Linked DNA regions of Homo sapiens: region 1 is linked to region 2. Evidence: promoter capture Hi-C in human tissues and cell types (Jung and others, 2019). All regions are on one chromosome and are shown on one strand. The core of a region is centred on a gene start or on the middle of the fragment in contact, and the rest is flanking DNA. Distances in the headings are between cores, read along the strand shown.

What was found. The method cuts DNA at HindIII sites, captures the fragments that hold promoters and counts their contacts. A contact is called where the count stands out against the background at its distance.
Region 1: a fragment that was not itself captured here is called in contact with the fragment with the promoter of MLF1 in region 2 in 1 of the 25 tissues and cell types used here (hippocampus).

What each region holds. Positions count from the first base shown.
Region 1 is chr3:158,791,535-158,797,747 of GRCh38, forward strand. No RefSeq gene overlaps it. Among named protein-coding and RNA genes, the nearest start is that of MFSD1, 7.4 kb to the right of the region's middle. The HindIII fragment of the contact is 4,544 bases long and covers 1,035-5,578 here.
Region 2 is chr3:158,566,969-158,573,161 of GRCh38, forward strand. MLF1 (myeloid leukemia factor 1) reads left to right here and starts at 4,226. Exons shown (of 8, transcript NM_001369783.1): 1 at 4,226-4,379. The coding sequence starts at 4,333. MLF1-DT (MLF1 divergent transcript) reads right to left here and starts at 4,098. Exons shown (of 5, transcript NR_104147.1): 1 at 3,203-4,098; 2 at 992-1,088. The HindIII fragment of the contact is 8,231 bases long and covers 1,093-6,193 here.

The DNA of each region.
Region 1 (6,213 bases), core at 2,057-4,556, 220 kb after region 2:
CTGGCAAAGGAAAAATATTTTAAACAGTCTGAAAAGAATGAACTCGGACCCGAGACAGTAAATTCATAACCTGCAAGGGAAGTGCTCATATATACTTCACATAGCAATTCCTTCAACAGGTTAGTTAATTTTTTCATAAAATATGTTCTCATCTTTTGTCTTTCTCCTTCTCAATATGTAATTCACAAGTATGTGCACATTATTTTTTATTATTTATTTATTTATTTATTTGAGATGGATTTTCACTCTTGTTGCCCGGGCTGGAGTGCAATGGTGCAATCTCAGCTCACTGCAGCCTCTGCCTCCTGGGTTCAAGAGATTCTCCTGCCTCAGCAACCCAAGTAGCTGGGATTACAGGCATGCACCACCACACCTGGCTAATTTTGTATTTTTTTAGTAGAAATGGAGTTTCACCATGTTGGCCAGGCTAGTCTCAAACTCTTGACTTCAGGTGATCCACCTGCCTCAGCCTCCCAAAGTGCTGGGATTGCAGGTGTGAGGCACAGAGCCCAGCTGCACATTATTTTTTACTGCTTAATTTCTATATATTTTTTCTTGTACCAAGCTAGAGGGATCCTTTAACATTTTTTTCAATTAGAAGAATATACTATCACCTGTTCTTTCCTGACTCCCTTCACTTCTTGTGAGGAAGGAAAAATACAGCGAGTATGTTTTTACAATTGAAGACAAATAAATGTATAGATAGGTAGACGTATGGATGAATACATAGTTGGATACATACACAAAGAGAAAGAAAATAGAAACAGATTAAGAGAAGAATGCATGAACAAACAAAACATAGAGGCATACATTTATCAAAAATTGAATACTGTAGGACATAAATGTATTCATTGGCATTCGAAATTTGGGGCATTTTAGGATCACATTTCATCCAAGGCGTGGTACCTGTCTTTGTTCCCAACCCGCGAGTCCCTCTCCTCTTGATCCTAACATACCAGTTTAGTATCTTTGGGGGTAGATCATTTATCTCTATTTAATTAGTTTTCAAAACAGATGATAAGAATGTGCCTGTCTGGAGGTCTGTATAAAAGGAACTTTTTTTACTGTCTAATCTTTGTTCAGTCGTTAATTTGTATTGAAATTCCAGGGAATTATTTATTCTGCTCCTTCAGAACTCAAGTTTGCTATAAACAAATGAGGAAAACAGCAAATTATTTCCTTGGAACTGAATAAAAATAAATGTAAATGATTCCTACGCGTTTTGATGTACAAAAGTAGTCCTACCTTATCCATGGTTTTGGTTATCTGCAGTCAACCTCAGTTCAGAAGAATGAAATGGAAAATTCCAGAAGCAAATAATTCATACGTTTTAAATTACATGCCATACCGCGTATCATCATGATTTCCCAGTATGAAATCATCCCTTTGCCCAGTGCATCCACTGTTTCCACACTCCCCGCCAGTGAGTCACTTGGTAGCTGTCTCAGTTATCAGATCAACTGTTGCAGCATCGTAGTGCTTGTGTTCAAGTAATCCTTATTTTAATAAAAATGCCTCCAAAGTGCAAGAGTAGAGATGATGGCAATTCGGATATGTGAAAAAGAAGCCATAAAGTGTTTCCTTTAAGTGAAAAGGTGAAAGTCTTCGACTTAATAAGGAAAGAAAAAAAATCGTATGCTGGGGTTGCTAAGATCTATGATAAGAATGAATCTTCTCTTTGTGAAATTGTGAAGAAGAAAAAAGAAATTCATGCTAGTTTTGCTGTTGCATCTCAAACTGCAAAAATTATGGCCATCCATTGTGTGCCAAGTGCTTAGTTAAATGGAAAAGGTATTACATTTATTGGTGGAAGACATGAAGAGAAAATGTGTTCTGATTGATGGCAATGTTAGGCCAAAAAGCATTCAGCTACATGAAGACTTCAGCAAGGGATCCCCTAAAACTAGTGACATCAAGCCATTTACTGCAAGTAAGGGATGGTTAAACGGATTCAGGAGTACAGAAGGTCAATGGTAGCTTATTGCTGTCACAATGACTACATCATTCACCTCACTTCATCTCATCATGTAGGCAGTGTATCATCTTGCATCAACATAAGAAAATATGTACAATACAATATTTGGGAGAGAGGCCACATTCACATAACTCTTTTTACAGTGTATCATTACAGTTGTTCTATGTTATTATTAGTTATTATTGTTAATCTCTTACTATGTTTAATATATAAATTAAACTTTATTATAGGTATGTATGTATAGGAAAAAAAACATAGTTTACATAGGAGTTCGGTACACTCCATGGTTTCAGGCATCTACCTGGGGAGTCTTGGAAAGTGTTCCCCCAGGATAAGGCGGGGGCTAGTGTACAATAAAAAGCAGTATTTATTAAGCACATAAACATTCTTTCAGATCTATTATTCATTTATTTAAATTTGTAAACATTTATAGGGTACAGGTGCAATTCTGTTACATGCATAGATCATGCAGTGGTCAAGTCAGGGCTTTTAAGGGTATTCATCACCCAAATAATGTACATTGTACCCATTAAGTAATTTCTCAGTACAGAATTTCTCACATTCACCCTCCCAACCCTTCACCCTTCTGAGTCTCTACCATCTATCATTCCACTCTCTATGGCCATGTGTTCACATTTTTTAGCAGTCACTTAGGAGTGAGAACATGAACTCCCTAGACCTCTCAGTGGACACTTTCCTGCTATCTTGGCCACTAGTTTTGCCAGTTAGGCTCTAAAATATAAGGACAGCCTTAGACTCCTAGAGTACATATTTTTCTTTTAAAATTGGTACTTCATTTACATAATAATACAAAAACTTTTCATTCCTGTGATTACATAAGTCAGCATAAACTATTTTTCATGAGTCACTATATGGAAGTAAACCAACGTCTAATCCCATGATCCAAATCAACGCAGTTATTTTCACCAGACTTCAAAGGCTGTCTTTGCACATCTTCTATGTAGAGTTGGATGAAGCTAATATAGAAGTTGAGAGAGTCAGAATCTCTTTCTAAGGCCTTTGTATATGATGTTGTTTTTGCCTGAAATGCCCTTACTCTGCCCCTCCAACCCCCACTCCCAGTCTTCTTCATTCTTCAAGATCAAGCTCATTTTTCACTGCTTCTGGGCTCCCAAGCAGAACCAGACACTCCTCTCTTGTCCCATACTAGAAACCTGCACTGCTGGTGGGGAGAGGTGGGGGTGGGGGTAGACCGGGGAGACAAAAGAAGGCATTGAAGGGGTTTACATCTTGGCTTCCAATATGAAGGATGAAGATAAAGAGAATGTTTTGGCTCACACAGCACTCAGGAGTTGTAGGAAGTAAATGCACATGAAGACTGAATCCAGAACTTGGATTTTTAGGAGTTACCCTATTCTCTTTTCTGTCTGTGTGGCTAACTTTGCTCCAGAGGCTGCAACCACCCCCACACCTGTGAAACCAGGCTGGTCAGTCTAGTGACCTTGTGTCCAAGATGATAAAGCCTATACTTACACCCCAAATTGCTTTCACTTTCCCATCACTTGATAATTATAAAATAAGTGCAATTTGTTTGGCTAATAATAGGTCAACACAGTTAGAATGAGCAAGTTCATTGTGGACAGGAACAGGTTTTTCCACAGCAGTAAGCTTCCTTTGTTACACCACTAGGTGGTGTAACGTGCTCCTGATTTAAGGGATTCACTTATTAAGCAGTTTTCAAGCTGGCCCTGTTCTAGATGTTTGAGATACAAAGATGCACAAGACTCTTAGGAGGTCAAAGTGTGGTGTATATAGTTTCAGATTTACAGAAAAGTTGTAAGGCTAGTAAAAAGAGTTCCCACATACCTCTACCCAGACACCTGAAATGGCAACATTTTACCATGTTTGTTTTATTCTCTCTCCATATACATATATATCTAATATATGTACATGTCCTTTGACTTCTAAATATCTCAGTATGTGTTTTCTAAAAACAAGTTCCTCCTCCTCCTCCTCCTCTTCTTCTTCTTCGTCTTCGTCTTCGTCGTCTTCGTCTTCGTCTTTTCTGAATTTTGCTCTTGTTGCCCAGGCTGGGGTGCAATGGCTTGATCTCAGCTCACGGCAACCTCCGCCTCCTGGTTTGAAGCGATTCTCCTGCCTCAGCCTCCCGAGTAGCTGGGATTACAGCTATGCGCCTCCACACCCGGCTAATTTTGTATTTTTGGTAGAGATGGGGTTTCTCCATGTTGGTCAGGCTGGTCTTGAACTGACCTCAGGTGATCCATCCGCCCTCCTTGGCCTCCCAAAGTGCTGGGATTACAGGAGTGAGCCACCACGCCCGGCCACAGGTACCTTCTTTTATAACCACAGTCCAGTAGTCAAAATCAGAAAATAAATGCTGACAGAATACAAATTACTTACAGAACTTAGATTTTGTCAACTGTCCCAATAATGTTCCCTATAGCCAAAGAAATCCTGGATCATGTGTTGCATTCAGCTGTTATGTCTCTGGAGTCTTCTTTAATCAGGGCAGTTCCTTAGTCTTTTATGACACTGAGAAATCAGGCCAGTTATTTTGTATAATATCCTTCAATTTGGGTTTGTTTGATGTTTCCTTATGCTGAGATTTAGGTATGATGAGCTTTTGTTAGGTAAATCACAGAGTTTTGTGTTTTCAGTTTCAGTGCATATCTGGGGGCACATAATGTCACTTTGTTCCAATACTGGTAGTATTAACTATGATCACTTGGTTCACGTATGTGGGCCAGGCTTCTGCACTATTTTTTCCTTTGTCATTAATAAATCTCTGGTGAGGAGCTACTTTGAGATTATGCATATATCCTTTACACTTCAAACTTTTATCCACTAATTTTAGTAACTACTGATTCTTGCCTGGATCAGATATTATGATGATGCCTAGCAAACAGTGGTTTTATATTTCCATCATTCCTTCTACATGTATTGATTGGCTTTCTATTACAAGGAAGAGCATTCCTTTCTCTTCTGTTTGTTTAATATTTATCCCAGGTCTAAGGGAAGAATGTACACTATCTTCACTGCCATTTAACATTGAACTGGAGATACTCACTACTGCAGTTAGTAAAGAGAAATCAATTGAAGGCAGGAGAACTAGAAAAGAGTGAGTAAAACTCTTTGTCTTTGCAGATGGTATGACAGTACACCTGGAATATCACAGAAAATTAACAGCAAAACTAAGTCAAACTAGAGAAGAATTCAATAAGTTGGCAGGACATAAACTTAACATACATAAATCAACAGCCTTCACATACATAATCAGTAACATGACATAAAGGTAGAGAAAACTACATTTACAAAAGCAACAAAGAATAATAAATTTAACAAGAAATTTGTAAAATATATATGAAGAAAACTTTAAAACACTCTCAAAAGACATGAAATAGTTTGAAAAACTGGAACACCACTTTTTTTTTTTGTATGTGATGACTTAACATTAAAAACTAAAGTCTCCTTAAGTTAATTTTCAAAGTTCATTAAAAAAATACCAGTTTTCTTATGGAGCTAGGCAAGCTGATACTAATTTCAGGTGGAAAAATATGGAAGAATATCCAGGAAAACAAAAATAAAAGCTATGAAAGGGGACTACATCTACCAGTCACTAAAACATATTCTAAGGCCTCTAAAATAAAAACAGTGGTCCTTGTGCATGACAAGAAAGAGCAGTACAACCGAAAAGAAAGTCCAGAAGTAAACCCAAATACATATGGGAATTTAGTATGCAATAAAGGTGGCATCTCAAATCACTTGGACAAAGATGGACTTAACAATTGGTTAGCCATTTAGAAAAAGATAAAAAGTTTGATCCATACCTCATACTAGGCAAAAGAATAAACTCCAAATGGGTCAGGAATCTAAATCTAAATAATGAAACCATACAAGTACTAGAAAAAAAAATGGGTGAATTCTTCTTTAACCTGGGTACAAGGAAAGGATTTCTAATTATGTTTCAAAATCCAGATGCAATAAAAGAAAAAATTGATAAATTTGACTATATTCTAAAAAAAACCCTTTTCATGACAAAACAAATAAGCCAAAAACTTCATAAAGACAAAAGACAACTGTGAAACTGGGAGAAAAAGGGTAATACCCCATTAATGTACTGTTAAAATTGAGACGAAAGACTTCTTTTGTGCTTAGGATATGAAAAGCTGCAATGAACATCTTTCCTTTCTCAATAATGAGAAAAACTCAGATGAACTACAAAGTCACAACCTTAACTGAAACCATCAGACACAGCT
Region 2 (6,193 bases), core at 2,976-5,475:
GAAGATAAACATGAAAAATAAAATGAAACATATTTTTTAGAAAAGGAATGCATGATATTTTACATTTCTTTTTAATTTGAAGAAAGATTGTGGGATTAGACAGAGGTCCCCAAACTATCTTAGTTCATGAGCCCTTAGTTCCTCAGTAATTTTTTCATTGTGCCCCCTAGGTTTAAAGAAATACTGAATAGGTCCGTTATTGTATAATTTAGATACAAACAGCGTATTTCTGACCTAAAAACTCAGTACCTTTAAAAAATAATGCACATAAATTGAAAGAAACATATTTTTGTATAATTCTTAAATAATCATACTAACAGATGGGTGCCCGCCTAGCACAGCACAATTTTTCAAACTTTAGAAACAGACTGAATGTTGCCACCAATCTTTCCTGTTCCACATTGACAGGTACTTCATTTTCATCATAGTAACTTTCAGAAACCTACCTTTCCAATGATATGACATCATCTAAAACAATGTAGTGCAATCTAATATTGAAATATGTGAACTGCCCTAAACTAGTACATTGAACAATGTCTAACACATGCCAAGTTTCTCTCAAAATTTGTCCCATAGCCCCTTGTGAGTTTGCTATGGCATCTCATTCTCAGAGGACCTCTGTGCACTGTTTAAGACAAAGGGATTAGGACAACGAAACCCTAGACACATTGAGCTTAATTGTGGTAAAGGTGTTTGTAATGGCCTAATATTCACGGCTCTGGAAAGCTATAATTAAGTTAAAAGTTCAGCACTCAAGAGCCTGTTTATTTTCTTTTGGGCACTTGAGATAATGTCTTCAGAAACATTATGAAAATTCTGAGGTGCTGTAACAGTATTTGTAAAATTAGCTGGGGAAAGAGTTGTCCACTAGGATGTAAGTTCCGAAAGGCCAGGGAGTTTTGTAACCTCAGTGTCTAGAATAATGTCTGGGATATTACTAGTCCTTAATAAGTATTTGATAAATTAATGAAAGAAACACGAAATCACTTACATATTGAAGTCTTGGTGTTTTTAATAGAGTTGCAGAGTTGGCTTGGGTTTCATCCTTTTCTCTGTTTTTCCTTAGTCAGTGTCCTTCCAAATGAAACCTAAGCAACAGTGTAGTTACAGATTATAGATGTAAAAGTGTTTACTGCAAATATTTGCTCCATAAATAGTTAATTTTTAAAATAGGGAGGCAAAGTACGGATGGTGGTGAGGATACAGGCTTTGGGGTAAGACAAATCTGGGTTTGAATTGAGTGACATCAAATTTCAATCATCAAAATTTAATCAAATTATCAACTTTCAAATCAATTATCAAAATTCAATTATCAAATTTATCTGGGTCCCAGCTTTTTTTAATGCAATTTAGGGATAAACATAATATTAGACATGGTTGCTGTAAAGGTTAAACGAGAAAACATATGTGAAGCACTTAGTGCAATCCTTGGAATATATGAAGTGTAAATGAGAGCTATTACCCTATTAGGCAATTTTCAGTTTACTTGGCTCATCTCATTCCTCACTCAGAAGGTGAGTTTTAAGGCATATGAGTAGGACTGTACATTATATACACCAGGCAAATGCTACTTTAGCACTGCCCTGGAATGCTTTTCCACTAGACATCCACTTCCTTCCTGTGGGTCTTTGCTCAAATTCCCCTTAGTGAGGCGTACACAAAACTTGCTATTTATAATTGCACCTCTCCATACTCCTTACCCTGATCAGCTTTTCTCCCTAACACTTATCACCTTACAATATACTATTTTCTATTTTGTTTATTTTGAGTCTGTCCTTACAAGAACATAAACTCCGGGAAGGCAGAGATTTTTGTCCGTTTTGTTCAATGATGCCTAAGGTCGTAGATCAGTCCCCAACACTGGGTAGTCACTCAATAAATATTTGTAGAATTGAATTTATGTGATGTGAATATATTCCCACTGAATTTTGTACTTTTTAGTTTGGGTCCATTTAGCTTGTCAGCATGATTTTGAAAAATGATTACCCGCTTTCATCCTGCATCTTTAAGTATGACTCATCACTCACATACCATATAACCAGCACTCACAGAGGAAAGCTCCAGGTACCCAGCTCAGTTCAATTACTAGCTGTGTGAACCTTGGCAATTTATTCAGCTTCTCTGTGTCTTGAATGCATCATCTATACATGGGGATAAAAGCCATCTCTACTCCATAAAACTGCTAATGAGGATTCAATGAGGTAATGCATATGGAGTGCCTACAACAGTGCCTGGCACACATTCAATAAATATTAGCTATTATGATTATATTTACAGCCAAGTCCAGGACCCTCTCCTCTCAGTCCTGTTCTGCATCTCTATTCCTCCCATGCTGGAGTATTCATTCTCTCCTGACCCACGCTTTCTTTCATTTCCACCTCTTACCCATCAGTTCTGAAAATGATGTCAAGGTCTCTTCAGTGCCAACTCTGCTCTGCCCTCCTTTTTTTTTTTTTTTGCATTTGTCATTAGATCCAAACTGCTTTCACAAGGTTCAGCTAATTCCCTGACTAACCTGTGCCTGGACTAAAGCTTTTATAACAATGTGATTCTAAAAAAGTTCCCACAGAAACTAGAGGGTAACATTACAAATTTACTTGGCCTTAATCCAGAACTATTTTAACACCATCTTTTATCACATAACTTACTCCATTTCAAGTTTTTTTTTAAGTGTGGCCTCCTTCACATCTTGTGCTTATACTATTTTAAAGAGAAAAACAATTTAAGGTCTTATAAAACAATTTTGTTTGCCTTGAAATTTATTTAGAAATTTTCGAAATTTTGTGTATATGTTCTCTGAGCTTTATTCTGAGTCCAGAGGAAAAGAAAATATCCTCTTTCCTGGATGGGCTGTGCCATCTCATCTTGGGCTGTGAAGTCTGCCCTACCCCATGCCACCAGTCTCAGGGGAAGGAAGCTGCCAGAGAACTTGGCTAAAAAAGGGGGATGGGGAGTAAAAGATCCAAACGATTAAATTTCCAGCTCTCAAAATAACCCCTGACTACTCCTGTCACCTCCAAATCAGGGCTTGCACACTTCTTCATGCTGGCAAAGTGCCACCCCTCTGGCCTGATCCCAGGGGGCCCTGATGAGCTATGGACGCCCCTTTATCTCTGCAAGACAGCCACGTAGAGAAGCTGGGGAGCTCACTGAATTAAGGGTGGACATGCAAGATGTATTTTCTCTTTTCTTATACTCTTACCATTCTTCTCCTTAATCTCTCTTCTGTCTTCCCCTCCATCTGTCTCCAGGCTCCTGAAAGGCCCCGTGATAGTGTTTTCTAAAACTTAGTAATTTGAGTACCACTATCACGATGTTCCTCTCCCCTGCTCTGCCTACCCCTCCGCCCCACCATATCCAAATTCCACCTGTTCTATTTGATAGCTTACTTTTTCACTTAAAAATGCAAAATCTAGCTCTTGATGTATATCACTGATTTAAATTTAAAATCAGTTTCCTTGCCATAAATAGAAAGCTCCCTGATAAATGTAATGCAAATAAAAACATATAGTAGTGGAATTTTAGTTGGATATGGCTGCTTGCTGCAGGCCTGTGCCTGAAACCTGCTGTTAGGTTAAGAAATGCTGGAGAAGTGTTAAAAACATATCAGCATCGCAGTGAGACTTGATCTTTGAAAGAGAGACACAGAAGGACAACCGAAAAGAGAGCAGCTTTCTCAAGAGGTAAATAAGTTTGTTGAAATCTGATAGGCTTCATCCCATTTCCTTCAACAACTGAGTACACTATTTGCTAACTGTACTAAAAAACGTTTTGCACATTTTTTCTTATTATTTGCTCACAGCTTTTGACTACCAGAGAATGTTTCGGATACAGGACTAATTCCTGTGGATGACAGAATGCGACCGTTGAATGGGACATTGGGTGTCATCTGGTCCAAATCTTGACCCCTTTTCATTTTCCCCGAAAGAAAGACTTGCGGCTCGGAACCGAGGGCGGCATGCCCAAGGTCACAGAAAGGGTGGTCTAATGTTTTGGTTCCTGCAGCCCAGAGAACAAGCTATCCCATCCCACAGGAGCCTTGGCGAAAAGCTCCCCGGCCGGCGCAAGGCCAGACTTCTCGCCTCCACTGTGTTGATTGCGGTTGCCAGGGCAGCGGCGCATTGCTCCCCGCCTCGTCCTGGTGACGTCACAGAGCAATGTCCAATGGGAAAGCAGCTCGGTGTCACGCACCTCCTATCCCGGCGGGCACCGCCTGCGCCGCGGCGAGTGAGGCGTCGTCCGTACTGGAGGCTAGCTCTTGTCGCGGCCGCGGCGAGTTAACATCGTTTTTCCAATCTGTCCGCGGCTGCCGCCACCCAAGACAGAGCCAGAATGTTCAGGATGCTGAACAGCAGTTTTGAGGATGACCCCTTCTTCTCGTGAGTTACGGGAGCCAGGAGTCCGGGGTCGCGCGGGAATTAAGGTATCGAGGGGAGCTATTTTAAGGGAAAAGAGCGAGTTTTAGAGGGCGAGAGAGAATTCGGAGTAACTCTGGAGGCGGTTTGAAGGAGACGAGGATTTGGAGGCCTGGGAGGGAAGAGAGAGGAGGATTTAGGGGTGTGTGAGACAGGGAAGAGACGGATTTGGGCGCATGAGGTGGAGAGAGGAGGGTTTGGACGCGTGAGGTAGGCGGAGGGAAGTTTGGGGGCGTGAGGTGTGGGGAGGAGAGTTAAGGCTGGGAGTGGGGGGAGAAGAGTTGAGGCCGGGAGGTGGGGGGAGGAGAATTGAGGGCATGAGGTGGGGAGAAGAGGTTGAGGGCGTGAGGTGAGGGAAGGGTTTGGGAGCATGAGGTGGGAGGGAGGAGGGTTGAGGGCGTGAGGTGAGGGGAAGGGTTGAGGGTGTGAGGTGAGGGGAAGGGTTGAGGGCGTGAGGTGAGGGGAAGGGTTGAGGGCGTGAGGTGAGGGGAAGGGTTGAGGGCGTGAGGTGGGGGAAGGGTTTGAAAGCGTGAGGTGGGGGGAGGAGGGTTGAGGCTGTGAGGTGGGGGGAGGGTTTGGGAGCGTGGGGTGGGAGGAGGAGGGTTTGGGGGAGTAAGGTGGAGGGGGGAGGGTTGAGGGTGTGAGATGGACGAAGGAGGATTTGGGGGTGTGAGGCGTTTGGAGGAGGGTTGAGGGCGTGAGGTGGGGGGAGGGTTTGGGAGCATGAGGTGTGGGGGAGAGTTGAAGGTGTGAGGTGTAGGAGGAGGGTTGAGGACGTGAGGTGGGAGGAGGATTTGGGAGCATGAGGTGTGGGGGAGGGTTGAGGGTGTGAGGTGAGGGGAAGGAGGGTTTTGGACCGCGAGGTGGGGGGAGGAGGGTTGAGGGCGTGAGGTGGGGGGACGGTTTGGGAGCATGAGGTGCAGGGGAGAGTTAAGAGCTTGAAGTGCAGGGACGAGGGTTGAGGGCGTGAGTTGGTGGGGAGGGTTTGGGAGTATGAAGTGCAGGGGAGGATTGAGGGCATGAGTTGGTGGGGATGGTTTGGGAGCGTGAGGTGGCGGTAAGAGGGTTGAGGGTGTGAGGTGGATGGAGGAGGATTTAGGGGCTGAGGAGGATTTGGGGGCATGAGGTGTGGGAGGAGGGTTGGGGAGAAGGGTTGAGGGCGTGAGTTGGTGGGAAGGGCTTGAGAGCATGATGTGGGAGGAGGGTTGAGGGCGTGAGGTAGGGGGAAGAGGTTTGAGGGTGAGAGGTAGTGGGACGAGGGAGGGTTGGGGCGTGAGGTGGAGGGAGGAGGGTTTGGGGGCATGAGGTGTGGGGAAGAGGGTTTAGGGGCATGAGGTGTGGGGGTAGGAGGGTTGAGGGTGTGAGGTGGACAGAGGAGAGTTGATGGCGTGCAGTGGGGGGAGGAGGGTTTGGGGGCGTGAGGTCGCAGGAGGATGGTTGAGGACGTGAGGTAGAGAGTTGAGGGCCCCAGGTAGGGGGAGGAGGATTTGGCTGCATGAGATGGAAAGAAGGCCCTTCCTCACACTCCCGGGGTGCCTGCTGCTTTCCATTTGGCCGGACTTTGGGTGCCCGTCATGGCTTCCTGTGTGCAGAGTTGGCCTTTGCAGCTTCAAGGGCTTTGCAGGTGACATAACTACCATCTCGGTGAAACTTATGGTGAGAATTATGTTCACATAATTGCAAATGGGAGCAGGGAATATTTTATAGCTCCTCTTTAAATTCCAAATAGGAACAGGTAATATTTTATAGCATGACAGTTCATTGAAAAGGGGAAGTTT